Regions from separate parts of the Homo sapiens genome. Here regions 1 and 3 are each linked to region 2. The links are contacts of gene promoters, found by promoter capture Hi-C in human tissues and cell types (Jung and others, 2019). All regions are on one chromosome and are shown on one strand. The core of a region is centred on a gene start or on the middle of the fragment in contact, and the rest is flanking DNA. Distances in the headings are between cores, read along the strand shown. Region 1 has its middle 13 kb from the start of PAX9. Region 2 holds the start of NKX2-1 (NK2 homeobox 1). Region 3 overlaps MBIP (MAP3K12 binding inhibitory protein 1).

The links. Contacts are between HindIII fragments. The study calls those that stand out against the background at their distance.
Region 1: a fragment that was not itself captured here is called in contact with the fragment with the promoter of NKX2-1 in region 2 in 4 of the 25 tissues and cell types used here (H1 embryonic stem cells, heart right ventricle, mesendoderm cells and 1 more).
Region 3: a fragment that was not itself captured here is called in contact with the fragment with the promoter of NKX2-1 in region 2 in 2 of the 25 tissues and cell types used here (aorta and dorsolateral prefrontal cortex).

Annotation. Positions count from the first base shown.
Region 1 is chr14:36,646,663-36,650,339 of GRCh38, forward strand. No RefSeq gene overlaps it. Among named protein-coding and RNA genes, the nearest start is that of PAX9, 13 kb to the right of the region's middle. RefSeq lists an enhancer at 690-1,519. The HindIII fragment of the contact is 7,467 bases long and covers 1-3,677 here.
Region 2 is chr14:36,518,902-36,522,116 of GRCh38, forward strand. It overlaps NKX2-1 (NK2 homeobox 1), which reads right to left and starts at 1,331. Exons shown (of 3, transcript NM_001079668.3): 1 at 1,152-1,331; 2 at 84-469. The coding sequence starts at 1,228. It overlaps SFTA3 (surfactant associated 3), which reads right to left and starts at 655. Exons shown (of 5, transcript NR_161365.1): 1 at 567-655. NKX2-1-AS1 (NKX2-1 antisense RNA 1) reads left to right here and starts at 377. Exons shown (of 2, transcript NR_103710.1): 1 at 377-778; 2 at 2,743-3,215. RefSeq lists enhancers at 747-1,746, 1,747-2,746, 2,747-3,215. The HindIII fragment of the contact is 7,239 bases long and covers 1-3,215 here.
Region 3 is chr14:36,314,684-36,318,047 of GRCh38, forward strand. MBIP (MAP3K12 binding inhibitory protein 1) reads right to left here. Exons shown (of 9, transcript NM_016586.3): 2 at 2,010-2,129; 3 at 8-232. Among named protein-coding and RNA genes, the nearest start is that of MBIP, 4.3 kb to the right of the region's middle. The HindIII fragment of the contact is 5,986 bases long and covers 1-3,364 here.

The sequences.
Region 1 (3,677 bases), core at 833-3,332, 130 kb after region 2:
ACTCTGAAAAAAGAACGTCTAACCTCTTTGGCATATACAAGAGGAAAGGGTCTCCCCTTTCCAGTGGTGGTGTAGAGAGCGGCTGGGTTCGTCCCTGAGGCCGGAGTGGAGATGACCGCAGCCAGGGTGGCCCTGCTCAAGTTGGGTCAGCAGAGCAAGGTTCCTTCCAGAGGGCTTGCCCCCGGGACAACTTGGAGCCTGCTTCTGGGGAGCCACACACGTCCTCTCCCACTTCTTGCTGGAGACTTGGGGACGTGAAGGGGGGGTTCTGTGATCCCGGAAAAAAAGTAACTTCTCTTGGTAGGTGATACTAGGCAGTTGCGTCCCGGGGAGTCCCCGCCTTTCTGCGCTTCCCCTGACGGGGGCACAGGGGCCGGCGTGCGTGTGTGGGTACGTAGCTCATCCCGGGGAGCTGGGATCCTCTTTTCCGCACTTGGGGAAGACGAATGCCGACCATTGGCTCAGACACCATACCACACAGGCATTTCTGGAGGCATTTCGCGGCGTTATTATGGGAAGTTGCGCGGACCGGGGCCTTCGCGCTACAGCCGAGGAGTCTCAGCGCCTGCCAGGCGGGAGCCGCACTTCCGGCGAGGTGTCTTCGGGAGGGGGCGCCACAGCCCGTGGCAGTGCCGGCCTCCCGCCTTAACCAGCCCGACTCCCGCCGCGCCAGCACCGTGGGGAGCGAGTGGGTCCCGCCCGGCCGCGGCCTGGACCTGGCAGCCGGGCTTCGTGGGCGCTCTGAGCCGTGGCCCGTGGCGCGGGGTGATCCTTGTGCCTGGCGCCGGCCTCAGAACCCCGTTTACGGCTTTCCGCGCATACGGAGGTTGCTGGGGACCCCGACACCTGCGCGCCCTCGACTGGGGCCCGCTCCAGCAGTGAAGACCCAGGCCCTTCCCTGGGCCGTGGCTGCTCTTGGTGCCTCATGGGAGCGCCCGGGGTAGGGACTCGGCTAGTGACCTGTAGGACATGAGGGGCGAGCTGGGAGCCGATTCGCCCACGGCGTCTCCTTCGCCATGGAGGCCCCCCACCCATTCCACTCCGGGGTTGCGGCCACGCACCATAAGAGCACCTTCAGGTCTGAGCTCTTTAGGGGTGGGAGTAGGCAGTTCGTGAGTCCGGGAAGGCCTGCGGGGTTTCCCGCCTGCTGCGGACTTAGCGTGGGGCCGACCGGGGCTGGCGAGGGCTGGCGAGGACTGGCGGGGACCCGCGGGGCTGAGCCAGCTCTCGCGAAGCCCTCAAGTGAGGAACGGCGCTTGTGGCTGCGCGCTCTCCGCAGCCAAGTTGCAGGGTCCAGCAGGGGCTCAGGTCCTGTTCCCTCCGCAGATCCCGGATCTAGGGCTCTAGTGGTCTCGGCCGGAGGGAAGGTGACGCGCAGTGGGCGCAGACGCAGAGTGCGGGGCGCCGAACGTGGGAAGGAGCGGGTTCAGCGCGCTGGTGAGAGTTTCAGGAAATCCGGGAGAGGGCGGTATTTACCAGTCCCTTCCCCGAGAGCAACCAGGCAAATCGGGGAAGGTTAGAGGTGGGGGACCTGCCTGAGCCGGGACAAAAAACTTTGGAGCTAGGGCCTTCTAACCCTGGAGACTTGCCGACTCCGGGGCGGGCTCTCGCACTCAAGTCCCGAGATGGGATGATTTTCCAACTTTCGTCCAGCCTCTCCTTCCGCTCCCGCCGCTCTGCTAGCACTCCCGCACTCTCTCCCTGGGTCACAACCCTCGCCTGCGGAATACCTGTCTGAAGGGCGCGTCAGTAGAAGCTTCGTTTCATACTACCTTTCTTACTGTTCTCTTCATCTAAATCGCAGGACATTATTCTCGGCTTCATTTCCACATAGCATTCGGCAGTGGACAAGGAGTAGGCGGACCCGAACCTGAACCTGACAGCTGATGCCGTGAAGTGGACACTTGAAGTTCTTGGTTTGGCTTTAGGGAGCGTTTAGGGAATGTGTTAGGCAGCAATCGGGCAAGCATGAGCTGTAGCCCAACCCTTCCCTCCGTGGGAAAATTCAAGTTAGGACGCAATGCGAGGCCTCTTAAATCTTTAAGATCCTCGGGTCAGCTCAAAGAGTCTTTAGCAATTCGTTGTTTTGTCTTGAGACCATTATCGGTCCCTAAGCACCTAATTATTTAATGGCAGCCCTCTGGGTATATCGGGTAGACTGATAGGTCTTATCTAACATTCAAACACAAGTTTCTGGAGGAAACTCTCATCTGACTTCCTCCTTTCCCACCCGCCGCCCACTGTCATTTATTTTATTAAATGGAACCCATTTAAAATCCAAATTTATAATTATTAAAAAGCAGTCTTATTACATATTCTTGAAGATTTGGTTGTGTACGATCATTTAATCATGTAGTTTAATTTCTGTGTTGTTCCCACATTGCCAACTTGATGGAGGAGAGCAGACCCGAGGACTTTTCAACCTCCAATAAAAAAGAAGAGGACTTTATGGCTGGGGTGAAAAGGGGCTGGTGAGCTACGACAATGGGGCAGCATAGCTTTACTATGTGCAAAAGCATTCAGACACATGGCGACCCTTTTGCAATAAAACTTTATTGATGATCGTTTGAAAGTTATGGCAACTCCAAGGTTATAAAACTTGTCATAAAATACCAAGCAGTCATTAGTTTACCTGACCTCATTTCAATATAAACTTCCACAAAACATTTTATTTTGTTCCTTCTTATAAGTGGAGAAAAGAAGTTGAAGAGGTTAAATACAGCGGCCCATTATTGAGGATCCAAAATCTGCAATTTGACACTCTGACCTTCATCCCTGCAAATAAAGCAGTAAAATTTACATTTTATTCTTTAATGTTCCGTTATTGCAGAAAAGTTAATAGTGTGTAAATGTTATTGTAGAAAAGATAATAACAGCTATGTTTTAGTTCCAACTGCCCATTTTTAGCACATAACCTGTGTTTAATTTTGGATGGAGACTTTTTCCTCTTTGGAAGATTTGTAAGATATATTTAACAATTATTAAAGAATATTTGCTCCCCGAGCTATGCAATAGAAGTCTAAGAAGCAAATGGCCACATGTTGTCATGTGACCTGAAGAGTTGTTCAAAATATTCAATTAGTATTTACAGCTATTGAGAGGTTAGATGACTAATCACTACCTCTTGCCACCCTCAGTCATGAGCTTAAAGAAAGGCAGCTGCCCTGAGATTGGCACGTACAACTATACTACAGAAAATAACCCAAACTGATGTTCCAAGAAAGCTCCAGGAGATAAACTGGAGTTTGTCAAAATCATCATTTCTGGTCCAACTGTATGAGTGGACTTAAACCATGGATCAGAGAACAGCCACAGAACACTGATAACTTTGAGTGGCTTCTCATCGCTCCAAACTCCACTTTGGATTGGCTGAAGCTCGTGTTTCCTTAATGCTGTGTAGCTAAGGCCAATCTACCTGCTTTTGGGGATTTGTGAGCAAGTACAGATGGCAAAGGTTGACTTTGTGTTAGCTGCATGGTGATTTCTCCAAAACATGTAAAAGTCTGGATATACTTTTTCACGGATTGTTTAAAATATAAGCTCCAAGATTGATCCAGGCATATATGCATTTATGATGGGTTTAGGAATCTAGATGAAGAAAGCTAACTCTTTAGGACCTCGCTGGAACTCTTCTTGGTAATGTTATGCTTAGTTTCCTGGTGTGCTTTCAAGTATTT
Region 2 (3,215 bases), core at 81-2,580:
TGCCGGCGCCGCGCCTTCTGGACGGCTCTCGCCGCACCTCCTGAGCTCAGCCCGCGGCCCCGCAGTGGGGCGGCCTCACTTACTGGCGGGGAAGCGCGGGTCTGGGTTGGCGCCGTACCATCCGGGGCCAGAGGCGCTGTTCCTCATGGTGTCCTGGTACGGCGGCAGCTCGCTCATGTTGCCCAGGTTGCCGTTGCAGTAGCCCCCCACGGCGGAGTGCGAGAGCTGGGGCACCCCCGCCGCCGTCATGTGGTAGGCGGCGGTGACGGCGCCGTGGTGCCCCACGGCGTGCTGCTGCATGGCCGCTGTTGGCGGTGCCGCCTGGCCCTGCCTGTACGCCGCCAGCGGAGCCCCGAGGCCGCCGCCCTCCATGCCCACTTTCTTGTAGCTTTCCTCCAGGGGACTCAAGATGTCAGACACTGAGAACGGAGTCGTGTGCTTTGGACTCATCGACATGATTCGGCGGCGGCTGGAGGAGGAAGGAAGAGGAGGAAAAAAAAGGGAGAGGGGGAAGGCGAAGCCTCGCTGCTTTTTTTTTCTCCCTTTGCCAAATATTCTGGTGTTACCTTAACGCCGATCTTGTTGGATGTACACGTAACGGAGTGGACCGAGTCCTCCTTAATTGGCTTGAGTGGAGGCTCGGGGGCTGCCTCGCGTTTGTTTTAGCCCGGCGCCAGGTTTTAGGCAGCCACCAGAGGCGGGGCGTAAGCGCTAAAGCAACAAGACAATAGAAGCCTACATCTTGCCCGAGATAATTAGCTTACATGCTGATGACAAGGTAAACACCTTTAAGTTTCACTTGTCAGGATTTTTAGGTCTCAAAGAGAGAGAGAGAGAGGCAGAGACGAGACCCAAAGCATTTCCCCCCTCCCTTGGACACCCCCACCCCCATTTTTTGTGGGGTACCAGCGGAGCGCGGGGAGGAGGTGGAGGGGAGGGGAAGGAGGAGGGAACCGAGAGCGGGGAGGGCAGGAGGTGGGGTGGGGGAGTAACAGAGGAGGAGAGATGGTTGAGAGGAAGGAAGGTGAATGCTGCTTTGCAACCAACTTGCGGAGTTACAAAGTGGAACCACTTTCCAATTCGGTCGGGGTTCCCCGGGCACGGACAGGTCTTTAGGAGGAGGGGGCTGAGGGACAGGGTGGGGGTTTCACCTGAGCCTGCCGGGGCTGCTCCTCCCTCCCGCCGCGGCCTCCCAGCCCCGCGCCTTCCCACTGCCTCCGGACCACATCGGGCTTCGCTGCGCTGAGCCCCAGTCGCCAACAAATGAGCGAGCGAGTCTGGGGACGAACCCTGGGGCCGCACTGTTGGTCTACGTGTCTGTCAGTCTGTCTGCCTCTCTTCTGCCGCCGTCAGAGGGACACCTCTGCTCCCCGCCCCCTTTCCCCCTACCGGAGAGAATCCGAGCGGGCGGAGGGGGCGCTGAGTAGGGGATCGACTGCCTCCCGGAGGCTGTCCCGGATCCCCGAGCCACAACCCGCCCCCGCAGCTCAGGGGTTTTTCAGTGGGCCACCCCCGCTAACACGCCTCCCCCAAGGTCTTCCCCCCCCCCCCCCACCCCCGGCCGAGCAAACACAGCACTGGCCCCCAGAGCTGGGAGGATGGGAAGGGGTCTCACGGGAGGGTCCGTCACTGAAGTTGCCCCACCTCGAACAAACCTGGTGTCCCTGACCCTCGCCCATCTCCCAGACACGCGGGGATCTGGGGCTGGAGCTGACTTTCCGAGGACATCACAGCCCCAGCACCCGAGCCCAGAGCCACGCTGTTTTCCCCTCTGATGCTTCAGGGAGCGCGCGAGCAGGGAGCGGCGTGAGTGCCCGTCTGTCTGTTGCCGGGCGGAACTGAGCCTGAACCCCGGCGGCTGGAGCGCTGGCCAGGAGGGGGCGAATGCCGAGGTGCGGGCAGCTCAGCGGGCGGGAGGCTGGGCCGAGGCTCGCCTCCGCCCGCAGCTCAGCCATGCAAAAGTGCTCTTGCTTCCCGGGAATAACCAAATATCTTTGTTTAAAGTGGTGGCGTAAATGGCCAGTCGCTTTGTGGCCACGCTGGATATTAGTAGATGAGGATCATTCTGCTTCAATTGGGCGCCTCTCATCCGACGAGCAAGAAACTGCTTAGGAGGAAGAGGGTTTCCTGTCTGCGCGTTCCCAGGCTTCAAGTGTGGGCCCCGCGCCTTGAGGGTCCTTGGGCGCCTGGCGAGGGGGAGCTGTGGGCTGCGCTCCCCAGCGGAATCGGGGGTGTCCCCCGCGTTGCTCCGGCCAGGCCGGGGCCTGCAGCCGAGTCGACTACCGAGTGGAGCACTGAACGGCGCGGATTTTGAGACCGACTCCGGTTTTTGTCCTTGGATTTTAAACGTTTTTATCATTGTTTTTGTTTTGCTTTCTCCTTAGCTGTTTTAGTCTCCTCTGCGCGCCAGGGGCTGGGAGGGCGGAGCGCTCCCCGGCCGGCCCCGGCAGGTGCCTCCAAGACACCCGCGCTGGTCAAGGAGCTTCTTGAATTTAGTTTTTGTTTTCACATTTTCTTTCCCCTCCTTGTAGAGAAGGAGCTCCTGATCATGACGAACAGGCAGTTTTGAGCTACTTAATTCATCCGGGCTCCCTTTTTTTATTAATAGCAATTACAGTAGAGAAAGTTTTATTTATTTTTAAAGATTTCAGCCCTCTCCTTGAAGAGAGCTCTTACTCCCTCAATACAAAGCCAACTTCTATAATAACATTCGCTTTTCTCACCGCCTACCTTCTTTACCAGGGTAAAGAAAGCTCAGGACACCCTCCGCCCTCCCACCTGCGCCCGCGTTTTTGTGCGGTCCCCACGGCAGAGCTGGGGAGGCCACCCTACGTTTGCGCAGGGAGACGCGCTCGCCGCTGGTGTTGCGAAAGACCAGAGCGAAGCCCGGCTCCTTGCCCTTCCTTCCCAGGGGCTTCTCTGGGGGGCGCTCTCAGGCCCCGACGAACTGAGCATTGATCACTGTGGTGGCTAAGCAAGGAGGGGAGGCGACGCCGGGCTTAAGCGAACCACAGAGGAGAACTGGCAACGCTGAATACAGACCTTGTCTGCAGGCGCGACCTGGCCGGGCCTGAGTCCCGAATGGGGTCTAATTGCGAAGGCGGGGTGGGTTTCCCAGTCACCCAGCTTCTTTCTCTCACTCGCCATTATTTCATAGTTGTTTGTAAGTTTAAGGAACACCAAGTGTAGAATGTTGTACATCTCTTCCAGTCTCA
Region 3 (3,364 bases), core at 330-2,829, 200 kb before region 2:
TTCTTACTTCTGCTTTTCCAGCCTTTATCTGAACTACTTCTGGATCAAAATGGATCTGTGTCTTTTTCACATCTCTTAAATCACTTTCTTTGTGCTTTTCTTCCTCTTGTAGGTCGCCAATGGAAAATTTGTCATTTACTTCATTTTTGTTCCCCATTTCTGTTCTTCCTATCTCTTCAACAGCAGTTGTATTCTCCTCTTTAATCGGAGACTGAAGTTTTGCTAAAAAAGGCTGAGAACAACACAATTCCATCTGCTGAGGTTCAATCTGACCAAAATTAATTACACACTTAATATATTTACATAAATTTCTGCTAAGTAAATGAAATACTTAATATCAGTTAATAAATATAAAAAGTTGGTATACCAGGACACATAGATCTGACCACATATAAGTACTCACTATTCTCTGCTATTGTAACCATTATCATTTGCTATAAATTTGTTTTTTAAAAAAGGAGAGAGGAAAAAAGAAAAGAAAAAAGAAAAGAAAACCTAAGGAAATTTAAAATTTTCTTTGAGAGAATCATTCTGTCACTCATCTTTTATTTTGTGCCAAATCAAAGCCTTCAGCCTCTGGCACCAATGCCACTTAATTAACATGTCATTCAAATGCCTCCTCAGAACACTAAGGCTTAGTATTTTTCCTCCTTAACACGAGAGCTAGTGCTCTCACTCAGCAAAGCCCTGCATTATCACTGTATCACTGGAGATTCTCCACTTGAAACTGCAGTTGGCCAATGTGAATGAGGAAGCATAGACATGAAATATATAGGTGTTAGGCTGAGTGAACACTCAGACTTTTCCTGACATGGCAAGATATCTTTTGGTCATAAAATTAAATTTTAAAAAAGAAAACGAACAAGAAAAAAAAAAGATCTATAGCTGAAAACAGGCAGAGGCCTATCACTATACTACAGGGGGAAAACCCCTGTTGTAGAATTTAAACTATATTACTCATTTACTGTTCCCCTCCCCCACTCCCCACAATGAGGTCTCATTTGAGTTCTAGAGCTCACTGCTCTGCCCTTTAAAAACAGGGTTAACTATTACTTTTAACATGAAACAGTTAAAATTTCCCACAAAGTCAATGAATGGAGGGCTGAAAATTAATGCCTATTCCATTAGTCAAAACACACTAACACTAATAACGTTCCAATTATTTTTTTCATACCTACAATTTTGCTTCCATTGTTCGCTATACTACTCTTTTGAAATCTTATAACACCTTAATCACAGTAAACTGACCAATCCAGTTTTTCCACTTATCTTTTTGACACTTCACATTTTACACTTTGATTAGAGATAAACTGCAAACTTACATCAATTATAATTGCAAAGATGTTCAATTAGAAACCAGCAAGGTCATAATACTGTTCAGTTATTAACATGAAATATTTAAAAATATAACAACACTATTATAAATACCAATTCAATATTAACTTCTAATATAAAGAATGAATTATTTCAAACTGTTAAGGAAAAGAAATGATAAAATAGTGACTGGCTACTTACTAAGATGAGACATTAATGTCATAGAAATTACTTTCTTTTTAAAAACTATGCTGAAACTGTTTAATTGCAATAGACACTCCAGGATGTGTCATGCTGGGATAATGCCCCTTCTTGAACCACTGAAAGCACTCCATGAGCCTCCAAACTCACCCAAGGCATGGAATCATTATCATAGCATGACACACACCTGCCGTGTCTTATTGCTTAATTATAACCCACCATAGATGGAACTGTATTGAATTTTCAGTGCAGGTCTAGAATTGAATAGAATTGCATTCATTCACTCATACCCACATTGGTCTTTTGGGCTATATTCCCTTAACTGTCCTGATCACTACTGAAATTAACAGATTTAGATTAAATCCGGATGTAAATAACGTTTTATTAGCAACACTATTAATATAGTGTTTAGAACTGTCAAATACTCCAACTAACTTAACCACAATCAATTTCTATTTTCAATATCGGGTTATCATTTCTAACAAGAAATTTACCTGTAAATATAAAATGTGTTGTTCAAGTGCACTAAAGAGCAATGCAGGCTGGAATGCCGAGAGGCTCTGGAGCTTGTTCCAATCGATTGTAATTTTCACCACATCATCTCTGAGGTCAAGCTTCAAAGGGGCAAACCAGCAACATCACAAAAATTACACGATTAAGCTCTACATATGGAATTGTCACAAAAATAAGATTTCTAGAGTAACGGGTCTATTTTGCTCTAAGTTATCAAGTTTTTAATAATACACTGAAATGCTCTACCCAGTTACCATTTCAAAAGGCCAAGAAAGCTACAGATTTTCATAAAAAAACAAAAACAAAATGACATGTCGTTCAAATTCTATTCTTAGGTCTGTGTAATGGGACCATTTTAGAGGTAAAACCATTCATGAAAGATGAAAAGATGAAGGCTCTTTTGATACTTCAATATATACAAACCTTTGGATGGAGTCCAATATAGGCTTGCCCTATTCAGAATCCTACTACTTCTAGCTCAGAGCCTTAAACAGAGGAAGTACAAGTGTTTTGTGAAAGTTTTAACATGCATCTTTCTCTTTAAGTATGTACACAAATACATATCAGAAATATATCATTATTCTGATGTCCTCCAAATCACATTTTTAGTTTTTTAACTTTTAACCGATTTTTAAACTAATTTAAAAGTCAAGATTATTCATACATATAAAGTGTAGGGATAAATGGCAACATGTTTATTTCAAATAAAAAACTATTATTTAGCAATGGAAGTCTGAAGCTGAAAAACAAAGACTTCTCCACCACAGTGAAATAAGTTGTCAGACTGGATGAAATGTCCAGATCTTTTGTAAATGCTAAGATGTGACAGCTCATTATATGGAAATTTCTATCAGTTGGTGATCTAATAGAATAAAATCATATCCAGAAAACTACCAAGAACCTGAATATAAGATTATTATCAAAATGAGTGAAAATTTTACAATGAGAGCGCCCATCTGCAGTCTTTTGAATGAATAAAAGTGAACCATCAAAAACTTTTCTAGGGACATGTGTTTACAGCATAGTATAAGACTATACTTCATAGTAGAATCAAGTTAACATAATTTATTCAAAATGAGTCATCTTTTCTACAAAATAAAGGTGTTACGTGAGTTCAAATACAGATTTTATGAGTCACAATTATAATAAAAAAGATGAATCACTGTACAAAGATCAAAAAGATATAAGGTTACCAATAAAAAGATAATATATTGAATAAATACTATGTGACAGAAATTTACTGCCCTTTGAAGATGAGAATGGAAGCATTTAAAAGTCCATATTAGACAAGTATAAAGAGATATGAAATTTCATGTAGGCTGCACTGGCAAAGATT